Regions from separate parts of the Homo sapiens genome. Here region 1 is linked to region 2. The links are contacts of gene promoters, found by promoter capture Hi-C in blood cells and fetal thymus (Javierre and others, 2016). All regions are on one chromosome and are shown on one strand. Each heading gives the region's core, a stretch centred on a gene start or on the middle of the fragment in contact. The rest is flanking DNA. Distances are from core to core; before and after follow the strand shown. Region 1 overlaps HS2ST1 (heparan sulfate 2-O-sulfotransferase 1). Region 2 holds the start of CLCA4 (chloride channel accessory 4).

What was found. The method cuts DNA at HindIII sites, captures the fragments that hold promoters and counts their contacts. A CHiCAGO score of 5 or more calls a contact.
Region 1: a fragment that was not itself captured here is called in contact with the fragment with the promoter of CLCA4 in region 2 in 1 of 17 cell types (naive CD8 T cells); the score reaches 5.2 in naive CD8 T cells.

What each region holds. Positions count from the first base shown.
Region 1 is chr1:87,103,465-87,109,718 of GRCh38, reverse strand. It overlaps HS2ST1 (heparan sulfate 2-O-sulfotransferase 1), which reads right to left. Exons shown (of 7, transcript NM_012262.4): 6 at 6,130-6,254; 7 at 1-5,249. The coding sequence ends at 5,023. Among named protein-coding and RNA genes, the nearest start is that of LINC01140, 23 kb to the left of the region's middle. The HindIII fragment of the contact is 2,197 bases long and covers 3,906-6,102 here.
Region 2 is chr1:86,543,620-86,549,660 of GRCh38, reverse strand. It overlaps CLCA4 (chloride channel accessory 4), which reads right to left and starts at 2,583. Exons shown (of 14, transcript NM_012128.4): 1 at 2,383-2,583. The coding sequence starts at 2,541. The HindIII fragment of the contact is 9,510 bases long and covers 1-6,041 here.

The DNA.
Region 1 (6,254 bases), core at 3,755-6,254, 560 kb before region 2:
CTGTTAAGAAAACTCATCATTGAACTGGTATTTTATCAACCCAATATCATATAATATAAATAGAATCAATCAAGCATTGCTCAAAGCAATGAGCCAGTGGCTAAGAATTGAAAATCAATGGAATTGAGACTTTCTTCTTTAAGGGGGAAAAAAAAAATCAGAAATGTGTGTTCCCAAAAAAAATTATGGATATGTCCAAACTGTGCCATAAATGTTAGATTAAGTTACTTTCAAATTTTTTTAATTCTAATAGCCCTTTCTCTATTTTTTTCTTCTAATTAAGTATATATTTTGTAAGTTTTCCATCTGAAATTTTATTACCAGCAATGAAGTACAAAGCAAAAGCAGCAGAGGCATGTCAGTCCAGATAAAATATTGTCACAAGCCATAAAATCATTAGAAACCAATGATGTTGCATGCTTTCTTGATGGCAACACTATCTGAGAGTTAAGTTGACACTGAACACTGAGTCAGCTTGGAAAATGTCCATCAGTGTCAAGGCTACAAAAGAAAATATTAAAACAGGACACCAATTTTTCCCCTTCCCACTGTTTATTTTATAGCTTTTGCATCAGGTAGTCAACTGAAACACTTCAACATCAGAAAGCTGGCAGAATGTTAAGGAAAAGGAGTGATTATCTCTCCAACAGATGTGACAAAATGGTTTCAAGTTGGAAACAGAATTTGCATAAATGAATCAACTGAATGGAGTGGGGGAGGGCAGGGAGAGAGAAGAGAGAAAGTAGTGAGCATCTTCCAACAGGACTATGAGGGAAAAAAAAGGCACTGTTGAGCTGTGTATTTATAAAATAAAAGTCAAAATACACAATCCATGTTTCCGAAAATTACATTCAACACTGCTTCAGAGATGCTCACATACCTGACTCTCAATAGAAAGCTACAAAAACTGTCTAAAAAATGAGATAGACAGCATCAATGTCTCAACACAGGCTTAACAGTAATGCGTTCTAAAGAGTTCATCACCATCAGGGTCCATTTTATAAATAGTACTGCAAAGGCCACAAAGCTGCATGAAATTACAGGATAAATCTGACTAAATGATCATTCATTTCAATCTCTAAAATTCCTGCTCCAAGAAATCAGAAAGCTCCACTCCAGAGGAGCTGAATTGGCAGTGGATTTGAAACAGGGTTGCTTTTCTCCTCAGAAGGCTGCCTAAAGAGTAGTTTAGTTGGCATCATACAGCAACTTTGCATAGGGTAAACGGATGCAAAAACATAACAGCAACTTCTCTGCTTCCTCTGAAAGTAAACAGCACTAATTTATGAAGAGGCCAACTCAAATCATAAAGGAGAAGCACCTGGGCCTCTTAAAGGCAAACCACATAAAAGGTTACAGGGTGCTTCTCTTAAGGATTCTAGGACCATAGGTGTGTTTGGGAATGACCAATGGAAAAATCCAGTTAGATGATTTACACAGATGTTCTCTATGTAGATTTGAATTTAAATTAAAATGCCAGCTATGCATTTGGGAACCAGCTTTTAGTTAAATTCTCTAGCACTTTTAGAATTATTTGATTTTATTAAAAAAGAATCATTGTCTACAAACTGTTTTCTAACAATGCAAATACAGTAAGCAAGTCATCTGCAATATCAAAATATTGTTTGTAAATCACTGATGGCACCAACGATTTGAGGAATTTCCAATAGGACACATATTGAGAAAAAGCAACAGATTATAGGCATTAACCAAATTTTAAGATCAGAAAATTATAAAAATCATTAAGTTTAAATTATCCAATTTTCAATAGCTTAAATCCAATCATCAGGAATTCAGAAGCACCCAATATGTTTGAAGTTGCACAAATGCATATGGATGATAGGAAAGTAATCCCCATGCAATATCTTAAGTGTTGCTATCAGATATATTTAAGTGCTACTTTACAGATTAAGCTGGGTAAAATCAAAATATATTTTACTTCCCATTAGATTTTAAAACAATCACAATAATTTATCAACAGTTGCCATTTCACAGCAATTAGAAAAGAGGAGTTGATACAAGTTGAACAGAAAGGTATCTTTTCTTCTTTTAGGAAATAAACATATATATATATATGTATATATATTTCACATACACACATAACATTATCTTTAAAATTCCAAGTGGTTACTTTTGTATTATAAAAAAATTATCTCCCTATGGTCAAAATACTGAAAAAGCGCAAAGGCTGAAAAAAGAAAACCACATTTGCCACTTTAAAAAAATACATTATTGTCTCAGTGGTTCTATTTATTTAATTGATTATAAAGTATTATGACTCCTAGTACTGTACTGGACCTGATGGAATTAAATACACCCCTTTCTCAGTCTCCAGAAAGGATACTCCTAACCCACCCTAAAATATGATAAAATAAATGCCCCTATTCTGAACTGTTAAACTGGGAAATAAACCATGCCCACCTGGAAACAATATAAGTCATAAAAGTTTATGAATCTGTGGGAGAGACTACACGAATCAGAAAGCAATTCTTTGGATATAAGTTAGGAGCTTTTAGAAGTATATAAACTCTTTTAGGCATCTAGAGTAGAGACACAAAGAGGATTTCTCCATAAATAATGATTTGGCCAGTGCAATGGTTGGTTGCCCATGGTCTGCATCTGGGATGTCATCTGTTTTTGTAAATAAAGTTTTATTGGAACATAACTGTGCTCATTTGTTTACATAATGTCTATTGCTGCTTTTGTGGTAAAATGGCAGGGTTGACTAGCTGTGACAGAGACCGTATGGGCTGCAAAGCCTAAAATATTTACTCTCTGGCCCTTCCACAGAAAGTTTACTGACCTCCTGATCTAGTTCACCAAGTACTGCTCTAGTTACCTAAAAGAGTTAATGCACCTCAAGAAGATTTGAGCATGTGGTGCAAGAATAACTTGCATACTGGGTTTGTTCATTAGCATGTAATGTCAAACCACACCTTGAAGTGGTGCTTTATTTTGGGCGAGGAAATAATTTGTATACACTTTCAGGAAATACCTATAAAAGTCAATTTGAAAAAAGGAAAGAAAAAAGCCAAATTTAAAAAAAGCCTGCCTATGTTCTTTTAATATTTTTATATTATTGTGAGGAAAGGGTGCTAAGATGATTGTTCTGTCATTCTTTTAGTTTTTCTTTAGTTTATAAATGTTTCTTTTGTTTATAAATGTTTTCTCATAAGAAGTGTTCCCTCATGCCCTCCCATAACCTTTAAGGCAATCTACCTAAAATGCTTACAGTATGGTGAAGCCTTATTCAGAAATATTTACTTAAACCATAGGTATAGAATAGCTACCATTTCTGAATAATAATGTAAAATGAAAACAGAAACAGCTTTCAAATTTGAAGAGAAAAGTTTCCCTGACCCTAGTCAGCTAACAAAGCCTATTTCTAACAGTGAACTTCCTGAACTCAAGCAGCTGCTCATGAAGCTTTAAGAGTTCACAGGCATTTCATATTTCAATAGTTGTTGAAACATGGAAGATAAAACACTGAGAGGATATTTATCAAACACAAATTTATATCAAGATTAACTTTTTCAACCAGCTTACAAGCAGACTTTTCCCTTTCTTTGTTAAAAAATGAATGGTATGAAACTATATGTTAAAGATGTTTCTATAATACCTTACATTTACATAGCGCTTTACAATTTTCAAAGTGCTTTCACATGCCATCTCATTTAATCCTCACAACAGCCCTGTGAGGTAGGTACAGCAGGTATTATTATCCTCATTTCAAGATGAGGAAATTGAGGCAAAGAGAGGTTAAGTGACTTGCCCAAGATCACACAGCTGTAAGTGCTAGAGCTAGGACCTGAAATCAAGTTTTTTGACTCCTTGTCCAGTACTCATTCCACTGTAATTACTGCCTCAAGTTATGAATAATGAACTGTGTATCAAAATTGAAAGCTTACTGAAGTTCATTTCAGTGATGTCTTAACAGTAAAGTTAAATGAGAAATACAAGAACAGTAGGTCTGATGGTTTTACTTGACATAAAATTGGTGCAAAACCACTTTTGTCTAATTACTTGTAACCTTTTGGTCCAAATACATAAAATATGCAATATTTACAGCATTTTCCTTGTTTTGTAAATGCAATGCTTTAAAACACATTATAAAGCACCTTAGTAAAAATAGTCTACAGGTAAAAGTACAGAAGAAGTAGGAAAATCCTACCCATACCACAGCTCACTAATGGAGTCATAATACGGAGTCACCGATATCTCAGTTTACAGCTTTACAAATAACCCATGGAGAAACAAATACTAAACTTACTTTTTTGATATTAATGTGTGAAAATCTTAACTAAAACTTCAGACAATCTCAATATTCTTTGAAGTATCTTCCCAGTATTAGATATTGAGGAGGCAGGAATGAGAAATACTGCTTTGATGCTTTATCTTTTTACCATATTAGTCATGATTTAAATTGATTTTTAACACTAATCACCATTTAAAAAATTAAAACCACCTACATAAATATGGGCAAATCCAACTACAGCAGAAACATTTCTTAGCAAATATGATTAAACATTCCAATAAATTTCATGAGACATGACTCACAAAAACAAAGTACACACTGCCAAACAGTTATTAACACAATTCAGTAGAGGTGTATAACCCAAACCCTCAGTGAAGGCAGAAGAGGCAAATGGACTCATCTTAATTCATGGTTAGTTGAAAAAATGCTTTATCAAAAACAAGAGTATCAGAACCTTTTCTGAAATTGTATTTAGCCTTTTGATTAGACCTGCCATAAGTTCATTTTAGGTGATGTATATTTTCTCCCAGGCAGGAGGTTATAACTTTCACCAACGTTTAGCCAGGAAAAATAAAAATGCCTGAAACTTAGAACACTGACAATGCCAGCCAGTATCTACTTCCTTGACGTTACTGTCTGTTTCCTAATTTGGCTCAATACAAATTGTCATATACACCTACTGTCAGCAATCCAGACTGTGGAGCTGAGAACAAAGGTGAAGACAGGGTCAAATTTTAGTTCAAGAATCCAATAGTCACACCTTATACTCAGTTCGACTTAGGGTAAATCTTTTCATAGAAAAAGTTTTGTGCGAGGATGTAGAGGTCTCCATCTTTTTCTCGAACGGCATGGGCTCTGATGAATTGGAACTGCTCTAGTGCAAATTCATAGAACTCATTCTCCATTTTCCAAATATCAGATTGCTGTAGTTTTGCAATGGTTTGTTTAGTGGGGAGTTTCTTCTCTGTGGTTTTCCTAAGATGAGATTTCTTTCCTACTTACAAAGGGGGAAAAAAAGGAAAGGTAAATAATTCTTGGAGAACACACAAAAGATCAATGCCTCTTTATTTGAAGAGGTGGTTAATATGACACATTAAGAACAGGTAACATAATTGTCTTATATAATTCAGGTAAAAACGGAGCCTTGATCAAACTAGAGCCATGATTCAGTCCTTTAGAATGTTAATCCTTAACCTAGTAAAGACTTAATGAAATGTCAAATAGTCAATGTAAGGATTGGCACACAGTAAAGTGTAGGCTGTCACCTCACACACTATATTCTCAAGTGCTTGGTGCTCTGAGACTAGTTTATTTTTGATAAAATACCTATTGTCAAACTGTATTCTATTTTCTCATAATCTGTATTCTCTAAAATTATGTGTTAGAAGCTAGGGCATATGCATCCTCAAGGAGAAGAGTTCCTATGACTGCATCTTATCAAGCAATAGCAAAAAACGAAACAAAACAAAAACACAATTAGCTTATCACTTTCAGACACATGATAATACGGCTGAGGCTGCTAAAACATGGCTTAGGCATACTTCAGTTCCCCTATCACACCTCTACTTCAAAATGGTAGTAGGCAGGACTTATACACAGGCCTAATGTTTGATATCTGGCATTATTGAATACCATACATTTCTATGGCTGGTTCTGTACTTTGTATCATTCCACTATTTCTACAGTGCCTTCTAATTTTCACCTAATTCACAGTTACTCAATTGAAAATAGTGAGCAGAAACCGACAAGATACCTGCCTTTCTGGAGCTATCTGTTGTGTTTCACTGAAGAAACTTCAAATCACATATTTACAAGTTGCAAACCAAAAAACCAAACCAAAGAAAGCTTTAAAAAGAAACCCTTCCTTTATATACCTGTGCGATAGAGTTCAGTAGCACCCCTGAAAAACCGGGGCAATGCTGCCTCCAATAACATGATAAAATCTTCAAGTTCTTCAGTAACTCCCACCAGAAAATATTCATTAATTAGGTTATACTTG
Region 2 (6,041 bases), core at 1,334-3,833:
TCTTAACCACCATATCACTTTAACAATCTTTACCACAACCTCCCTGTTCCTAGTCACCATCACTGCCCACCTGCAAGAGTTTCCTACCTGGGGTCCTTCTACACCAGTAAGCTGCCACAGAGTTTATAGAGGATGGGTGACAAGTGGAAATTCTTTACAGTCCTTAATATTGCAGTCAGAGTGATTCCTGAACATGCATGAGAACACACCCTTCTCTGCTCAGAATCCTCCTATGGATTTTCATCACAGAGTCAAAGTCAAAGTCTTTCTGGTGGTCTAGGCCCTGCCACCTCTCTAACTTCAGCTCACCCTATGCTTCCTCCTGCTCATTCATAGCTGTTTCCTTGGTTACATCAAACGAATTCTCACCTCCATGCTGTTTTTCTCCCCTAGTTTTCAATGGGCTCTTCTCTCGCTCATCTCAGGTCTGTGCTGACACATCATCAGTGAGGCCTTCCCTGACTTCCCTCATGAAATAGCAACCCACATTCTCCCCCAATCCAGCCCCACCTAACACTCCATATCCCCCTTCCTGATTTGTTTTACTCCACAGCAACCTACTACCACCATCTGACCTGTGATCCATTTACTTATTAACTATATCTCTGAAAAGAAGATACACTGCATGGTGCCAGAGGCTTTAAAAAAATTTTACTGCTCTTTAGCATGTCATAAACATTCAACAAAGAATTCTTTAAAGAACAAATGAGTCCAACTGCTAACTTACAGATCAAGAAACTCAGTGTCAGGGAGCCCTGTGCCTTGTCTTCTGTCTTGTGGTGACACAGTGTAGAACCCTGTCTAAAACCTTCATCTCCCTCTGCCCATTACCATATTGTCCTCACTGCACCACACTGCTTTTAACTTCCTGAAGGACTCAGAAGTTTCCATAATAATTATTAACTATTAACTTTGTTTTCTTCTCCATAATTCAAACAGAAGACATCCCAATTCTTTTTTTTTTTTTTTTTTTTTTCCAGAGAGGGAGTCTTGCTCTGTTGCCCAGGCTGGAGTGCAATGGCGTGATCTCAGCTCACTGCAACCTCTGCCTCCCGGGTTCAAGCAATTCTCCTGCCTCAGCCTCCTGAGTAGCTGGGATTACAGGCATGTGCCACCATGCCCAGCTAATTTTTTGTATTTTTAGTGAAGGCGGAGTTTCAACATGTTGGCCAGCCTGGTCTCGAAATCCTGACCTCATGATCTGCCCTCCTCGGCCTCCCAAAGTGTTCAGATTACAGGCATGAGAGCCACCGTGCCTGGCTGACATCCCAATTCTTGGGAAAAATATTTGCAAACTATTCATCCAACAATGGATTATTATCCAGAATATACAAGAAACTCAAAAACCTCAAAGACAAAGTAATAATAATAATAATATTTTAAAATGGGCAAATGATCTGAATAGACATTTCTCAAAAGAAGACAAACAAATGTCCAACAAGTATATGAAAAAGTGGTCAACATCATTAATCATCAGGGAAATGCAAATCAAAACCAGAATGAGACACCATCTCAGCCCAGTTGGAATGGTTATTACCAAAAAGACAAAAAAAGTGCTGACAAGGATGTGGAGAAAGAGACCTATTATATACCATTGGTGAAAATGTAAGTTGATACAGCCATTATGGAAAACAGTATGGAGGTTCTTCAAAAATCTAAAAATAGAATGACCACATGATTCAGCAATTCCACTAGTGGGTATATATCCAAGGGAAAAGACATCAGTCTGCACTTCCATGTTTATTGTAGCACTATTCATGATGGCCAAGATGTGAAGTCAACCTAAGTGTCCATCAAGAGATGAATGGATAAAGTGTGGTATATAAACACAAATGAATACTACTTAGTCACTGAAAAAAATGAAATTGCTTCATTTGTGGCAGCATGGATGAGCATGGAGGACATTATGTTAAATGAAATAAGCCAGGCACAGAGAGATAAATACCACATATTCTTATGCATATGCAGGAACTAAACCAGGGTATCTTATGGAGATAGAGAGTAGAATGATACTTATTAGAGGCTGCAAAGGATAGGGGAGAGAAAGGAAATGAAGAGAAGTTTGTCAATGTGTACAAAAGCACAGTTATGTAGACAGAATAAGTTCTAGTATTTGATAGTACAATAGGAAAATTAAAGTTACTGATAATCTGTTGTGTATTTCAAAGTAGCTAGAAGAGAATAATTATAATGTTCCCGACACAATGCAAAGATAAATGTTTGAGTTGCTGAATATGCTAATTACCCTGATTTGATCTTTACAAATTGTATACATGTATAGAAATACTACTTTGTATGCCATAAATATGTACAATTATATGTCAATTAAAAATAATAGTAAAAAACTAAAAATTAATGAAAGATATTCCATTTTGTTCTTACCTCTATTTGTTCAATTATTTTTTCATCTTCTGGCACACTAGGATCTATAACAATGACAATATCTTCAAAGCCATTATTATTCAGCTTAATGAAGGAAGTATTTGACTGGTGCAGCAGGCACAGAACTAAGAGGAAAACAAAACCTCTGAATAACCCCATTGTTCCTCTCTAGTTATTCCTGGCTCAAATGTTGGTTTGTTCAAGAGGCTTTTCTTTTCTTTCTCTTTATATACGTTCCTAAAACTTACCAGTATTGGCTGATTATGGGATGTTGACTGTATAAAGGTACATTACATGAGAAAATACATGACTAATTCACCTGATTGCTTAATTATATGTTACATAAAAGTGACTAAGAGTCAGAATAAATCAGATCATTTTATAAAATGCATTGCACATTTTCCTGTTGGAACACGTTTTCTTTATTGTTGTCATTGTTGATATTCTAAGGGCTCCTTGACAACAGGGATTTTTTTTTTTCAATAGGTTTTTGGGTAACAGGTGGGGTTTGGTTACATGAATAAGTTCTTTAATTATAATTTCTGAGATTTTGGTGCACCTAACCACCCGAGCAGTGTACACTGTACCCAATGTGTAGTCTTTTATCCCTCACCTCCCCCTCCTATCCTTTTCCCCGAGTCCCCAAAGTCCATTGTGTCGTTCTTATGCCTTTGCATCCTCATGGCTTAGCTCCCACTCATGAGTGAGAACATATGATGTTTGGTTTTCCATTTCTGAAATTGGCTGCTGCAAATGCCATTATTTCATTTCTTTTTATGGCTAAGTAATATTCCATGGTGTGTGTGTATGTATGTAGGTATATGTGTATATATATATATCACATTTTCTTTATCCACTGGTTGATTGATGAGCATTTGGGCTAGTTTCATATTTTGCAATTGCAAATTGTGCTGCTATAAACGTGTGTGCAAGTATCTTCTTCATATATGACTTCTTTTCCTCTGGATAGATACCCAGGAGTGGTATTGCTAGGATTGCTGGATCAAATGGTAGCTCCACTTTTAGTTCTTTTTTTTTTTGAGATGGACTCTCACTCTGTTGTCCAGGCTGGAGTGCAGTGGCGCGATATCGGCTCACTGCAACCTCCGCCTCCAGGGTTCAAGGAATTCTTCTGCCTCAGCCTCCTCAGTAGCTGGGATTACAGGCGTGTGCCACCATGCCCGGCTAATTTTTGTATATTTGTTTGTTTGTTTGTTTGTTTTTTAGTAGAGATAGGTTTTCACCATGTTGGTCAGGCTGGTCTTGAACTCCTGAACTCGTGATCCACCAACCTTGGCCTCCCAAAGTGCTGGGATTACAGGTGTAAGCCACCACACCCAGCCCACTTTTAGTTCTTTAAGGAATCTCCATACTGTTTTCCATAGTGGTTGTACTAGTTTACATTCCCAGCAGCAGTGTAAAAGTGTTCCCTTTTCACCACATCCATGCCAACATCTATTATTTTTTGATTTTTTGATTATGGCCATTCTTGCAAGAGTAGGGAGGTATCGCATTGTAGTTTTGATTTGCATTTTTCTGATCATTAGTGATGTTGAGCATTTTTTCATATGTTTGTTGGCTGTTTGTATACCTTCTTTTGAGAATTGTCTATTCATTTCCTTAGCCCACTTTTTGATGGGACTGTTTGTTTTTTTCTTGCTGATTTGTTTGAGTTTGTTGTAGATTCTGGATATTAGTCCTTTGTCAGCTGTATAGATTGCAGAGATTTTCTCCCATTCTGTGGGTTGTCTGTTTACTCTGCTGATTATTTCTTTAGCTGCACAGAAGGTTTTTAGTTTAACTAAGTCCCAACAATTTATCTTTGTATTTGTTGCATTTGCTTTTGGGTTTTTGGTCATGAAGTCTTTGCCTAAGCCAATGTCTAGGAGGGTTCTTCTGAAGTTGTCTTCTAGAATTTTTATGGTTTCAGGTTTTAGATTTAAGTCTTTGATCTATCTTGAATTGATTTTTGTATAAGGTAAAAGATGAGAACCCAGTTTCATTCTTCACCATGTGGCTTGCCAATTATGCCAGCACCATTTGTTGAATAGGGTGTCCTTTCCCCACTTTGTTTTTGTTTGCTTTGTTGATGATCAGTTGACTTTAAGTATTTTGGTTTATTTCTAAGTTCTATATTCTGTTCCATTCGTCTATATGCCTGCTTTTACACTAGTACCATGCTGTGGTGGTAACTATGGCCTTATAGTAGAGTCTGAAGTCAGGTAATGTAATGCCTCCAGGTTTTTTCTTTTTGCCTAGTCTTGCTTTGGCTATGCAGGCTTCTTTTGGGTTCCATATGAATTTTAGGATTGTTTTCCTAGTTCTGTGAAGAATGATGGTGGTTTTTGATAGGAATTGCATTGGATTTGTAGATTGTGTTTGGCAGTATGATCATTTTCATAATATTGATTCTATCCATCCATGAGCATGGGATGTGTTTTCATTTGTTTGTGTCATGTATGATTTATTCAGCAGTGTTTTGTAGTTTTCCTTGCAGAAGTCTGTCACCTCCTGGGTTAAGTATATTCCTAAGTATTTTAATTTTTTTGCACTATTGTAAAATGGGTTGACTTCTTGATTTGATTCTCAGCTTGGTCACTGTTGGTATATAGGAGAGCTACTGATTTGTGTACGTTAATTTCGTATCCCAAAACTCTGATGAATTCATTGACCAGTTCTAGGAGCTTTTTAGATGAGTCTTTAGGGTTTTCTAGATATATGATCATGTCATCAGCAAACAGTGACAGTTTGACTTCCTCTTTACCAATCTGGATGCCCTTTATTTTTCTTGTCTTGTTGCTCTGGCTAAGACTTCCAGTATTATGTTGAATAGAAGTGGTGAAAGTGGGCATCCTTGTCTTGTTCTAGTTCTCAAGGGGAATGTTTTCAACTTTTCCCTGTTCAGTATAATGTTGGCTGTGGGTTTGTCATAGATGGCTTTTATTACCTTAAGTATGTTGGGGACACATTTTCTATACTTTCTAATTTTGATGAATTTCCTAAACATAGACATATACTTTATATTTTCTGTAGAGTAGAATGTGAAAATTAATAAAAATCCATAATAAAATGAACAGATACAGTAATACTAATGTCTTCTATTTTTACAAAGCAATTTATCAGCATTACAATGGTATAAATAATGGAAGAGATAAGATAGTTAAATGTAAATAACAGCAAATTAGTTAAGATGGGTTTGAGGTCCAAATTAAAGATTTTAAAGACTTTGATAAATTTAGCAATCAAATTATTTACCTAAAAAATACTGTCCAGTAAAGAAATAATAAAATTTATTTCCATACAAGCACATCAAAAACTTTATCTGGTAGTTTGCTGGTTACTATTGAGGCAGAGTGAATCACATTAATAGTTTACATTTATTCAGTTCTTACCAGAGCACAGATTGTCTCACTTAACCCTCACTGCAACTCTGTAAGGCAAGTATGCATATTACCTTCATTTTATGTATGGAGGAACTGAGGCACACAGATTTAAGTAACTTGCCAATATCACATGGCTAGTAACTGGTAAAGTCAGGATCTGAACCCAGCATTCTTATCCCAGAGCCCATGGATTTAATCTCTCCATCACAAGGCAATGCTGTTTTGCTAGGCAAGTAATGTAGTAAGTTTTTATAAAAAGGAGCAGCTCTGGGAAAC